Linked DNA regions of Homo sapiens: region 1 is linked to region 2. Evidence: promoter capture Hi-C in 16 types of primary human blood cells and fetal thymus (Javierre and others, 2016). All regions are on one chromosome and are shown on one strand. The core of a region is centred on a gene start or on the middle of the fragment in contact, and the rest is flanking DNA. Distances in the headings are between cores, read along the strand shown.

Region 1 (6,339 bases), core at 1,469-3,968, 500 kb before region 2:
TGTGGCCTGAGCAACTGATAATGCTGTTTACCAAGATGGGAGCAATTGGGTAAAGAATAGTTTTTTGGCATTAGACAAGGGCAGAGGTTGAGAGTTTGGGCCTCAGGTTGAGATGATTAGACTCCAAGTGAAGATATAGGCTGGCAATTGGTTATAGAGTCTAGAGCTCCAGGGAGAGATTTGGGCTAGAGAAAAAATTGAGGAATCATTTGCATGCTGTTTATCTCCACATTTATAGTATTTTACTTTTTGTGTATTGATCATTTATAAGCACTTTTATCTATATTTCATCCTTTAACTGGTACAGTTCCAGTTTGTGTTGTTATTCCTACTATAAAGAGTAAGGAGATTGGCCAGGCGCGGTGGCTCACGCCTGTAATCCCAGCACTTTGGGAGGCCGAGGCGGGCAGATCACGAGGTCAAGAGATCGAGACCGTCCTGGCTAACATGGTGAAACCCCATCTCTACTAAAAATACAAAAAATTAGTTGGGCGTGATGGCAGGTGCCTGTAGTCCCAGCTACTCGGGAGACTGAGGCAGGAGAATGATGTGAACCTGGGAGGCGGAGCTTGCAGCGAGCCTAGATTGGGCCACTGCACTCCAGCCTGGGGTCAGAGGGAGACTCCGTCTCAAAAAAAAAAAAAAAAAAAAAAAAAAAAGAGTAAGGAGATTGAGGTTCAGGGGAGGTGAGTAGCATGCCTCCTACAGCTTGGTGCTGGCAGAGCCCACATTTGAATCCAGGATTTTGATTCCAAGCATATGGCTCATTTGGTTAAATCTGGTTAAAGGTGGCTCTTTTCTCTTCTTGTATCTTACTCTGCTCCTGAGATTGCCATATTCCCAGAGATTTCTCGTTGGAAAGACACTACCTTTTCTGAGGATGAATCCTGCTGTTTTTTAGTATTATTTTCTGTCTCCTCCTTAAGATGGGCATCTTCTCAAAATTCCCATTCTTCCTGGATAAGCAGCTTTACAGCTGCCACAAATCCAGAATAAATACTACCCTCATACAGCATGTCGCACAAATGCCTGCCAAAGCCCCATATTAAGATGTACTCCTAAAATAAAGCTGTATTTTCTGGTGTCCCTTTCCTTCTAAAATCAGCTTATTGTAAAACACTATCCCCACTCCCTTCTTTAACGGGTCCTCTGGTCAGGCTTTAGTGGCCTTGTGTAAAATTCAGAATCTATCAGGATTTCAAACAGATGTAAAAGGAAGTAAATTTCTGAGCCCTCAACTTTGACAGTTCTCCCAATTTATTTGGCTAGATGTGACAGTAAAAGCCACAAAAAGAGGGCACTTGAAGAAAATGTTTTGGCCACAGTGTTTACAGTTAGTGCACTTGGAACCTTCACATGCCAGGCACAGATGGCAGGTGTCTGTAAGGAGCCACACAATAACCCAGCGCTTAGTGTGGGCCCTAAGGGGGACTGCATCAGGCCTAAAGGAGTTGGATATTGGCAAGTAAAATGTGAGTGAAACAGAAAATGTAGTCCACAACATCAGTTATGCTATTTGTAGTTGTCATGAAATGAGCTGATAAAAATTTCAAAGTGTTGAGTTTTCAGGGTATATGTGTCACACCACGATTCCTGCAGAGGTTTGTTTGTTTGTTTGTTTCTGTTTTGGTCCAGATACATGCCAGAATAAGAGCAGTGGTTAGTTGAACTTAGTTTTTAATCCTGAGATGTAGAATTGTTTGGAAATCCTGTTTTTTCTTTTGTAGTATCTCCTGCAAGTTGACACATACATATTATCTATGAGAAAATTTAAAAATTCTTTTGATTTAGTATACCTTTGTGCATATTATTTTTCTCTCTCCATTTAGAGCATTAAATGTATTGTTCTGGGTGTTCAGAAAGTAACATGGCCCTGCAGATTGTCTGATTTTTGTCTTTTCTTAAAAGCTTACTTCGACAAAGCTGTTGTTAGGGATTCTTTCTGTATATGAATTGTGTGTAGATCACATTTCGGTGCCCAATGCCTCTTCAGATATCCTAACAATTAAAGGAGACTTGAAAATTTAGTTTCACAGAACATGTGCATCTGTCCCGCTCAAGCCTGATCGCTTCAAAGGTGGTAGGATAATTAGTAGCTAAATGAAACAAACATAAAGAGGAAGCGGAACAGTGGTAGTTATGTGCTGCATGTGATCACAGAGCTCATGGAGAAGACTGAAGGGGGCAGAATGCGTGGGTCAGCTGGAATAAGCGAGTCAATACTGAGTAGTTGGGAATCAACATCAGTGCTGCATGATAAGCAAAGATTGAATGCAGTTGGTCAGAGGAGGCCCACTGGAGAAGTGAAAATGTTTTATCAGATACAGAGGTGACAGACCCAATAAGCAACATCACCTTCTGTAACCTCAAAAGTGGAGGAGGACTAAGCAGAGAACCAAGTAATGAGGAACCATGTTTTGTAAAGAAGGTGGCATCACAATTAACATAGACTACTGTGGGCTCAGAAGCAGGCAGGATTCACTCACAGTGTACTTTTTAGATGAGGACATTTCAATACAGTCTTCTACTGAGACATTCAAAGAATCTTAATGAAGTACAACCTTCCTTTGGGCATTGTGAGGTCAGTTATATATCTTATCAGTAAATGTGCAGTGAGTCTGCATCCCCCCAAAAGAGCTGGACCTTTGATTAAGAATCTCTAGAGCCGTTCATCCTTTAGTAGTATGCAAAATGCTGGCCAAGGTGAAATGATTTAGTAATAACCTTCTATACATCAAAGTTGTGAATTTGTCTTTTGTTTATTTATGAAGGCAGGAAAGTTTAGTTTTGTTTTAAATTCATTTGGGGAGAAATATGTAAACCCTGAAGTCTTGAGCTCATTTCCCAAGTGGTCTAGACTTCTAGGTATTTTCGAGTGAAGCCATGACTTATCTGGTTGAGGCATAATGATGTTCCAAAGGGAAAACAGAGCTGAACATGGGTGTGGAATGTTCTATGTGTTGCTGTATATTCTAATCATTTTTATAGATAAAGATAGGAAGAGACATTCACATATGCTGATTGAAATTATGTTTGGAATTAGACTTTCTATTAAAATCAAAATAACACATGTAAGCCTCTTCAACTGTGTTATAAATTCTAATGGAGGGAACTCATCAAGGGCAAATATTTTTATCTTGAGCCTTGTTTTCTCTGATGATTAGTGCATTTATTAGAAGATTAACTACTCCTTTTAAAAAAAATCTTTAACAAAAATTATCTGACAGCCCAAGGAATTCTCAAGTTCCATTTCAGTGTTCAGGCAAACCAAATTATTATATTTCCAGATTTCCTCTTCTTTTGCTGCCATTCACAATGAAGGAGGAAAAAGCGGACTCCTTTGATGTGGAGAGAAAAAAAAAGCAATATATCACTTCCCTGAAAGAACATTTCTCAGTCTCTCATGTGAAAAAGGATTAGCACCTCCAACAAAGGTCCTGTGGATCACAGCATCGGGCAGCAATACCAAGCAGTACTCCTAAGGAGAGGAAAAACTGTATTTGAGCAAGAGTGTTTGTCCTGGCAAATAGAAGCTTTTTAATAACTGCAAATCTGAGATAATGGCATACGCTCCCTAAATCCTTAAGGACCAGACAGCTAGTTTAAATGGAGTGAAGTCAACTTTTGTTTTACAATAGAAGTCTAGTCTTATCAAAATATAGTTTTTTCACTTAATGGTTTAGTCTGCCTATCTGTGGTTGATAAGGATTATGCGTATATGGATAAAATCGTTTGGAAGATTCATCATTGACCCTCTCTTATACAAGAAAAGTTCCATTATAAGGTCACTTGCTTCCATTTTGCACTAATAAGTTATTCAATAACCTGCAGAATTAATTTATTAAGATTTTGATTGAATGTTTCTTAGAAGAAAAGAAAACCTGCCCTGACTTTCCAACACATTAAAGAATCTTTTTACAGTAGATATAAAGAGGCTTGTGGGAAGTAAGAAAATGGTAATTCATGTGTGATAGAAAAGCCAAGGAGAAAGTTTATCTGTTAAACAAGGTTTGGTTTTGCTAGACCTTCATTTGTTAGTCCTTTTTTCTGTATTATGCTTTCTAAAATTGAGACAGTGAAAAGAACCTGATTTAAAGTAATAATAATAACACCTTGTACTCGTGTAGTACTTGAGACTGTCTAAAATCCTCTCTGCAAGTCCACAGCTTTAAACAGTCTGGATAGCTTTGGCTGTCTGCTTTGCTTGATCCTGCTTGAATGGAAGTTTCTAAGTGGGAGGGGAGAAGGAGGCTGGTAGGGCTATCCGTATGAGCCCCATCATAAGGTGTATGATGCCAAATGATCCATCAGAGTTTCAGTCCAAAACCAAAACTCCAGCAGCTCTTACTTTAATGTTATTAAATCAGGGTTTCTTCGTCCACACAGATACCTTATTGGAAGAAGATTTTATGGAATTGACTTTTTTAGGAACAAATTTTGGTCTTCAGTAGCTCGCCAGTAACCCTCTGACCTTTCAGTAAATATCCAACTAAAGCTTTGAAATTAGGGTATTTAGTGTTTTATGGCCCAGAATAAAAATCTCCAATTCTGTTTCCAAATAGTGTAGCCTCAACACATTTTATTAAGCTCTTGACACATTCAGCCGTGTGTATTTTGTAAAGTTCCTATGGTTATTGTTTTACAATAGTTGCTTGCAAAAGCATTGTAAGGGTTTCAATTAATCAGCCCTTTGTGCGCTTCAGACTATGCAAATTTATCACATCAAACCATTCAACTGCTCATGGGAAAGCCGTGTAAAAACTGTATTGTCTTCTAGCGCCTCCTCTCATTTAGAGTGATGTTTTAATAAGAAAGCTAATCAAGTTTTCTTATGCATTATTTATCTGTTAACATGTAAGGAAGAGCCGAATTAAAATTATGTCAACCGGTATATGGCAAGTGATGTGATAGATCTGGAAATGATTCAACAACAGAACAAAGCCAATATGATTCAACAGTTTTTGTCTACTCCCCTCCCTCTGGGGATTATTTAAGGTGGTGGTGTGAAAAATAAAAGGAGGTTAATTCGATAGCTGGAAAAGGGGAGGGGAAGAACGGAATAACCACCTGTGTTAGCCTTAACATTTTGATTTAGAGATTTCATTTCTGAATGTATAAAGGCTCATTGAGATGAGTTTACTCAAAGCAAACCATGTCTTAATAGGAACAGTCAAACTTGAAAGCATTCCTACTGCTTCTTTGGCCCCATTTACCACCATATTCATCAGCAGTAAACTATTCCCCAATAGATATCTGCAACCCCAGGCCTCGTGAAAGTTATCAGGAGACAGTGTCTTGATGATGTTAAATGACCTGCACAACCCAGGAAGGAATGAGCTGCTTTTCTGCCTCTCCAGCCAAAGTTAGTGCAACTGCAACTGCTCCTTCTATTCATTAAGTTGGTCTCCTTTGCTTTGCTAGTTTGCTTCCTGCTGAGAGTAATTAGGTTTCTTATATAATAATAATTCCTTGTATTTAGATGCAGCCTTTCTCTAAGGACCTTAAAGTACCTCTCAGACATTAGCTCATCTGTTCTTCTAACACAATTGCTTCATGAGATAGGTGCTAATTATTCCCGTTACAAAGAGCAAACAACTAAGGCTCACCAGAAAGTGGTGCTTCCCCCGCACCCCCAAAGTAACATATCAGTGGAACAGCATTGAGTCAAATTAAAGTCACCCAATTCCTCGATTCACCTGCTCTACATAGGTCTAAGAGTCCAAGGGGTGATGAATTTTTTACAGACGGCATTTCCCCCACATTTATAAACCTCACTAATACTGGGCACTGGTTGAGTGTTCATCCCTTACTAAACACAGCTCTCTTCTTGCACTGTGACTGATGGAGAAAAACCACAGCATCATTTCACCATTCAGTGTAAGGAGTGTAAAACTGTGCAGAATAAATAGCCTTGTCCAACTGCTGAGTATCTGCAGAAAGTAAAAGGAGGTAATTTAGACTTTGATTAGGATTATTTCAGCAGACCATCCTGCCAGATGTGCTCCACATCATTTAGAGCATTAGAAAGTGGCAAGCTGAATTGTATAAATGTATGCAATATATTTACGAAGTTTTCAATATTCACTCAGATGACTTGACATAAGCTACCTCCGCCTATCTGGAGTTGGGGCCCTGAACCTCTACTTCCCCAGCAATTGAGGGAAATGATTCTTTTTCTCTTTCCTCACTCAGAAAAGGAAGAGTAATAATATATATTAACCTCAGAGGGGTAAATTTAATTCAAATGTGATTACACTTAGAAGGTAGACTTGCTAAATAAAAATGTAAAAATTAAAGCAGACTGTAATATTAAAATGAGAACTGGCCATCAGCAAAATT
Region 2 (5,691 bases), core at 1,158-3,657:
TTCTTGTCTGCCACGATGTGAGATGTGCCTTTCACCTTCCGCCATGATTGTGAGGTCTCCCCAACCACGTGGCACTGTAAGTCCATTAAACCTCTTGCTTTTGTAAATTGCCCAGTCTTGGCTATGTCTTTATCAGCAGCATGAAAAAGGACTAATACAAGCCATGAGCCACCACACCCAGCCTTCCTTATCTCTTTTGACTTCTGCAGCTTTTAGCAGAGTTGACCACTTTCTCCTTGAAATATTCTCTCATTTGACTTCCTGGACACTCGACTTTTTTTGATTCTTCTCCCTTTCTATACTTCTCGCCACCCTCTATCTGTCTCCCATACAAGCTCACCTTCAAGGCTTGGTTCTAGACCTCTCTTCTTCTTACCTTACAGTCTCTCCCCACAGATCTTGTCCTCATCCAGATATTCAGTTCATCCACTTGGGATTCTTTCCAACTTCTTCTCAAAATGTGATCTTGTCAGTTCCCTGCAATAAACTTGCCAATGGCATTTTAGGATAAAGACAAAGTAAAATAAAACATAGAAATGCCTTACCATGGCCTACAAGGCCTCTTTGGGCTCTGCCACCACCCTAATTCCCATTTCCCTCTCCTGCACCAGCTGCATTTGCTTCCTGTCAGTCCCTGGTGCTCTACTGGTTTCTACCATGTGGTCTTTGAAGACTGTGGGCCAGATTCCATGCCCAAAATGCTCCAACTTTTAGGCCTAAGTGTCACTTTCTCAAGGAAACTTTTCTAACCTTCACGAATACATGAAGCCTCCTGTCCCCATTACATGATTTCATGGCACCATGGACTTTTACACTTGCGCACAAGTGGTACAACAGCTGCAGCTGTTCACGTGTTGTTTCTGTCTCAACACTACATGGACAGACTGGTCACCACAGTGTTCCAATGAACTGCTTCCCTATCCTTCACCCAGCTGCCTTCACTGCCTCTAGGAGGCATTCCTGGGCAGGTGGCCTTCTGTGTGCTCTTCCACAGCACCCTGCTCCGGACGCTACTGCAGCACTTATTATGCTCTTACAAGTTCTTCATTCTTCCAACCAGTAGGAATTTTGTTGCTGTTTGTTTGAAGTTCAAGCTGTGTATCAGGCATACTAGGCACAGATCTGCTAAAACAACACTTCTTCACACCTCTGTTTGGATCACAGATCAACTCAGAACCTGAGAGTCACAGACTCTCTTTCCAGAAGAAAAGACCCACGCTCACAACATTTCGCAAATGATTTTAGCAGGATTCATGGACACCCTGCAGCCCGGCCATGAATGACCTGCACTAGATTTACAAGCGTTGGGAAGGCAGGAACTGAACGGTGTTCTGCTTTATTCCCTGCACCCAGCAAAGAACTTGTTCCACAGAGAGACAAAATTAGTATTTGTCAGGTGAAACTGAGTGAACAAGTGGATGCGGTACATTAATGCAGTGGGTAAAACTGGGTTAGCAGAGCCAGACTGCCTGATTCCTGGACAACAGTTGTGTTGTGACTTGAAGAAGTTACTTCACCTCTCTGAGCCTCAGTTTGGCATCAGGAAAATGGTGATACTATCTCCTGGGTGACTGCAAAGATCAAACGAGTTAATACCATAAATCACTTAGAATATGCAGAAAACTCTTCACATATACTAAATCATTAAATCATCACAACAACTCATTTTAAAATGAGGAAACAGACGCAGGTAAAGGAACTTGCCCAAGGTTACTCAGCTAAAAAAAAAAACAAAAAACAAAAAACCGGCAGAATTTGGACTCAAACCCCACAGGTTGGCTCCAGAGTCCTGCCTGCTCTTAGCCCTGTGCCCCCACATATAGCAATGCTTTTGGTAAATGTTTGTTAAATCACAATGTGGGCTGTTCTAGGATGCTTGTTTCTTAAGCATTTTTGGGGAGTGAAATTCACTTCTGTAATACACAGTTATGGTTAGTATGGTCTTCTCTACACCACCACTGGTTTCAATAAAGTTCTTCTTTCGTAACACATATGCCCTGCTGCCAGTTTCAAATTGACCAACGTTTATAAGCAAGGAAAAACGAGGGTCCACGGAAGATCTCCAGGACCGATCAAAAGGCCGCACATTCACTGTGGGGCCTCCGCTTTTCCAGAGAAACCCGGCAGGCTGAGCTGAGCGTCTGGCGAGGCGTGGGGTTTTGCGGGCCCTGACCGCTGCGGCGCCGCTGGTGAGGAACACGCCCAGGAGCAGAGGAAGGGGGCGACTCACCCGTCGGCGTCAGCTCCAAGCAAGGCACAGGGAGTCCCGGGGGCCAGGCCCCGTCCTTCCCTCTCTCTCCGGCCAGCCTCCCCACAGTCCGCAGTCCCCGAGGCCTGGAGCCGGGATTTCGGTCCTCGGTCTCAAGAAGCTCCCGACAGTTCTCAGCAGCGCCAACCAGGCCATCAGTCCCTTCGCCCATGGCCAATCAGGGCTCGGGAGATGACCGCCAACCCCCGCCCCCCCAAGACACGCCCCCGCGTCCCAACGCAGCCAGTCAGAGCGCGGGACACAACTACGCGTCCCTCCCCGCACCACGAGGGCGAGTCGGAGTGGGAATCGGCTTTCCAGGCAGCCCAGCCTGTGCTGGCGGGGGCATCTGGCATTTTCACACCCTTTCCTTCCCAGCATTTTAGGAAGCGGAGTTCCAGTAGCTTTGACGCTTAGAAAATATAAGAAAAAAAAGAAGTAACAGAAACCGCTATATCTTTAAGATAGAGCCAATCACTGTTCCCAAAATAATTCAGTTAGGTAAAGAACCAACTTACAAAAGAAATGTTTAAAAAACCCCCAAAGTTCTTTGAAACACATCTGAACTCTTCCCCGCCCCCACCCTACCCCAGCAGTTAGCGACTGTCTTTAAAAGCCATTCTCCTTTCTCTCCCTCCTTGCCACCTTCACCTAAATACTCCCCTTTTCTGATAAACTGCCAAGTGGTTTCCATTCTAATTATTACCGGTGATGCCCAACCTCATACACTAAACACGTTAATTTCTCCTTAAAGCCAGGCTGAATGTCTCTCTCATTTATTTTCACATTTATCCATCCAAAAAACAAGTATTTATGGCAGGCCTGCTAAGTGCCAAGCATATTGAAACAGCAATGAGAAAATAGAGGGGGAATAAAACACATTCCCTGTCCTTATGGAGCTTACATTCTAGTGGAGGGCAGAGATATCAACAACTAATAACGTGACTAATCACACCTAGTTAAGTGTTATCGAGGACAGGGTGCCCTGAGCTGGGCCTGGTGATTCTGTTTGTGTGGAGTTGGAGTCAGGAAAACTGGTTTTCCCAGCTGGAGGTGTCTGCTGTCAGGTGTTCGTAGCACACTGTGCACAGTTCTGCCGTCGGTGGCACTGGCATACAGACTGCCCTCGCACCCTGTGGAGTGAATTCCTTGAGGCTACTGATTATTTTTTCTGTCAACAATGCTGGGCACACAGTAGGAACTCAGGAAATGTTAACTAAATCTTTGAGTCTAGTCTCACTATGCAGTTTAGGCTCAACAGGCTATATTGAGAGGAGCTCACACGTGCATTTAACTCCACTGAGTAGCAGCAAGAATCCTGGCTCCTCAAGATCACCCACCTCTGATCTCTAGGATATTCTAGAATGATCTGAGCAACTCATGTGTACAGCTGGGGGGTGTTTGTCCAGCAACTCCTGAGTTATCCGAATATAAAAACTCTATTATGCATAGATTTATTGCACACTTTTTCCTGAAATAAAATGATTTGGGGTCCAGACTAACCAAAGTGTGTCATTTGCACTTAGGAAAAGGAAATTAGGATACAGAAAAGGAAGTTAAGGAATGTAAACTCAGGACTTAGAACTGCAAGCTGCCATCACTGGTCAGGAGGGAGGGAGCAGAAATGTGCACCAGGGTGCTGGAAGCTTGTATTAGGGCTCCACGTAATTGTGCAAGGAATTACAATACATATGACCCCGTGCATTGTAATCAAAACTTGAAACTGACAAATCAGCTATGCCAACTGTATTAAATAAATGCTACTCAAAGTTTTTTCCAGCCCAAATATTTAAACAGTGCATTTCTAGGACCATATAATCAGAAAAAAAACCTTGAATGAAGAAAAGGGGAAAAGAACTTACAATTATGCATATTATGTACAAGAAAATTACAAACACATTTGAATTGTGAGAAGATCCTGAAATTTCTAGTATGTAAGAGATGCATTAAAAATACTGATAGACTTTTATATCTCAAATTTACTTATTTATTTTAAGCAAATATGAAAAACATAAGGACTTTGTACAGTTCATTCAAAACCCTGGTTCTCTCAATATAATTTTCCCAAGTTGTCAGTACAGTTTTTGGCAATAAGAATTGAAGAAGTATTTGCTGAATGAGTAAAATGTCTTAAATCCCTTAACCACAAGTAGGATTTCTAGTTAAGGGGAGAACACTGATTCGAACATCATGTATCTGCTCAAGTAGAGCATGATGACTGATGCCTTTTCTTTCCCTTTCAGTGATTCATTTTGACCACTATTTACACCAAACTGAAAAAGCTTTCCAAAAAACTCCCTAATAAAAAAAAAATCCTCTTACATTTATAAATAGCATACCAGTGCTTATGCTGAGATAGTGTTCTTTTACTGTTTATTTATTCACATTAAAACTGAATCTTTGGCCGTGCGCGGTGGCTCATGCCTGTAATCCCAGCACTTTGGGAGGCCGAGGCCAGCGGATCATGAGGTCAGGAGATCGCGACCATTCTGGCTAACGGTGAAACCCTGTCTCTACTAAAAAATACAAAAAATTAGCCGGGCGTGATGGCACGCGCCTGTAGTCCCAACTACTCGGGAGGCTGAGGCAGGAGAATCGCTTGAACCCAGGAGGCAGATGCCGCAGTGAGCCGAGATCGTGCCACTGCACTCCAGCCTGGGCGACAGAGTGAGACTCTGTCTCAAAATAACAACAAGAAAACTGAAATCTATGACCTCTTGTACGGTGATGGTAAATCTCAGGTCTATGAATTTCTCAACTCTGCACTGTACAACCAGGTCCAAAGAGTAGGATGTGAGGTACACTTACCATAAAAAACAATTAAAATATTACTTCACTTTAACAGTGGTGAAAAAAGAACGATAAAGCACAGGATTTTTTCTTATTCTTTTTCTCGGTAATGGATTTCCCACCTGCCGCCCCATCCCCGAGACAAGGTCTCACCCTGTCATCCAGGTTGGAGTGCAGTGGTGCAATCATAGCTCACTGCAGCCTCAAATCCCCTAGATCAAGCCATCCTCCCACCTCAGCCTCCCAAGTAGCTGGGACCATAGTGCACACCACCACACCTGGCTAATATTTTTGTTGTTTCCTTTTGTAGAGATGGGGTCCCAAGATGTTGTTCAGGCTAATCATTTTTTTTTTTTTGAGACAGAGTCTCACTCTGTCGCCCAGGCTGGAGTGCAGTGATGTGATCTCGGCTCACTGCAAACTCCGCCTCCTGGGTTCATGCCTCAAGTGATTCTCCTGCTTCACTTCAGTTTCCCAAAGTGCTAGAATTATAGGCATGAGCCACCCTGCCTGGTCTTCTTTACTTTTTTTTTATTTTTATATTGATTTTTTAAAAATAGAGATGGGGTCTTGCTAAGTCTCCAGGGCTGGTCTCAAACTCCTGGCTTTAAGTGATCCTCCCGCCTCAACCCCACAAAGTGCTGGGATTACAG

Evidence for each region. The method cuts DNA at HindIII sites, captures the fragments that hold promoters and counts their contacts. A CHiCAGO score of 5 or more calls a contact.
Region 1: a fragment that was not itself captured here is called in contact with the fragment with the promoter of MTERF2 in region 2 in 1 of 17 cell types (M1 macrophages); the score reaches 6.0 in M1 macrophages.

The regions. Positions count from the first base shown.
Region 1 is chr12:106,485,657-106,491,995 of GRCh38, forward strand. The region is part of intron 23 of POLR3B (RNA polymerase III subunit B); the gene reads left to right. Among named protein-coding and RNA genes, the nearest start is that of RFX4, 94 kb to the right of the region's middle. RefSeq lists an enhancer at 5,233-5,810. The HindIII fragment of the contact is 1,625 bases long and covers 1,907-3,531 here.
Region 2 is chr12:106,984,739-106,990,429 of GRCh38, forward strand. MTERF2 (mitochondrial transcription termination factor 2) reads right to left here and starts at 2,408. Exons shown (of 3, transcript NM_001033050.3): 1 at 2,231-2,408; 2 at 377-487. The HindIII fragment of the contact is 15,581 bases long and covers 1-3,892 here.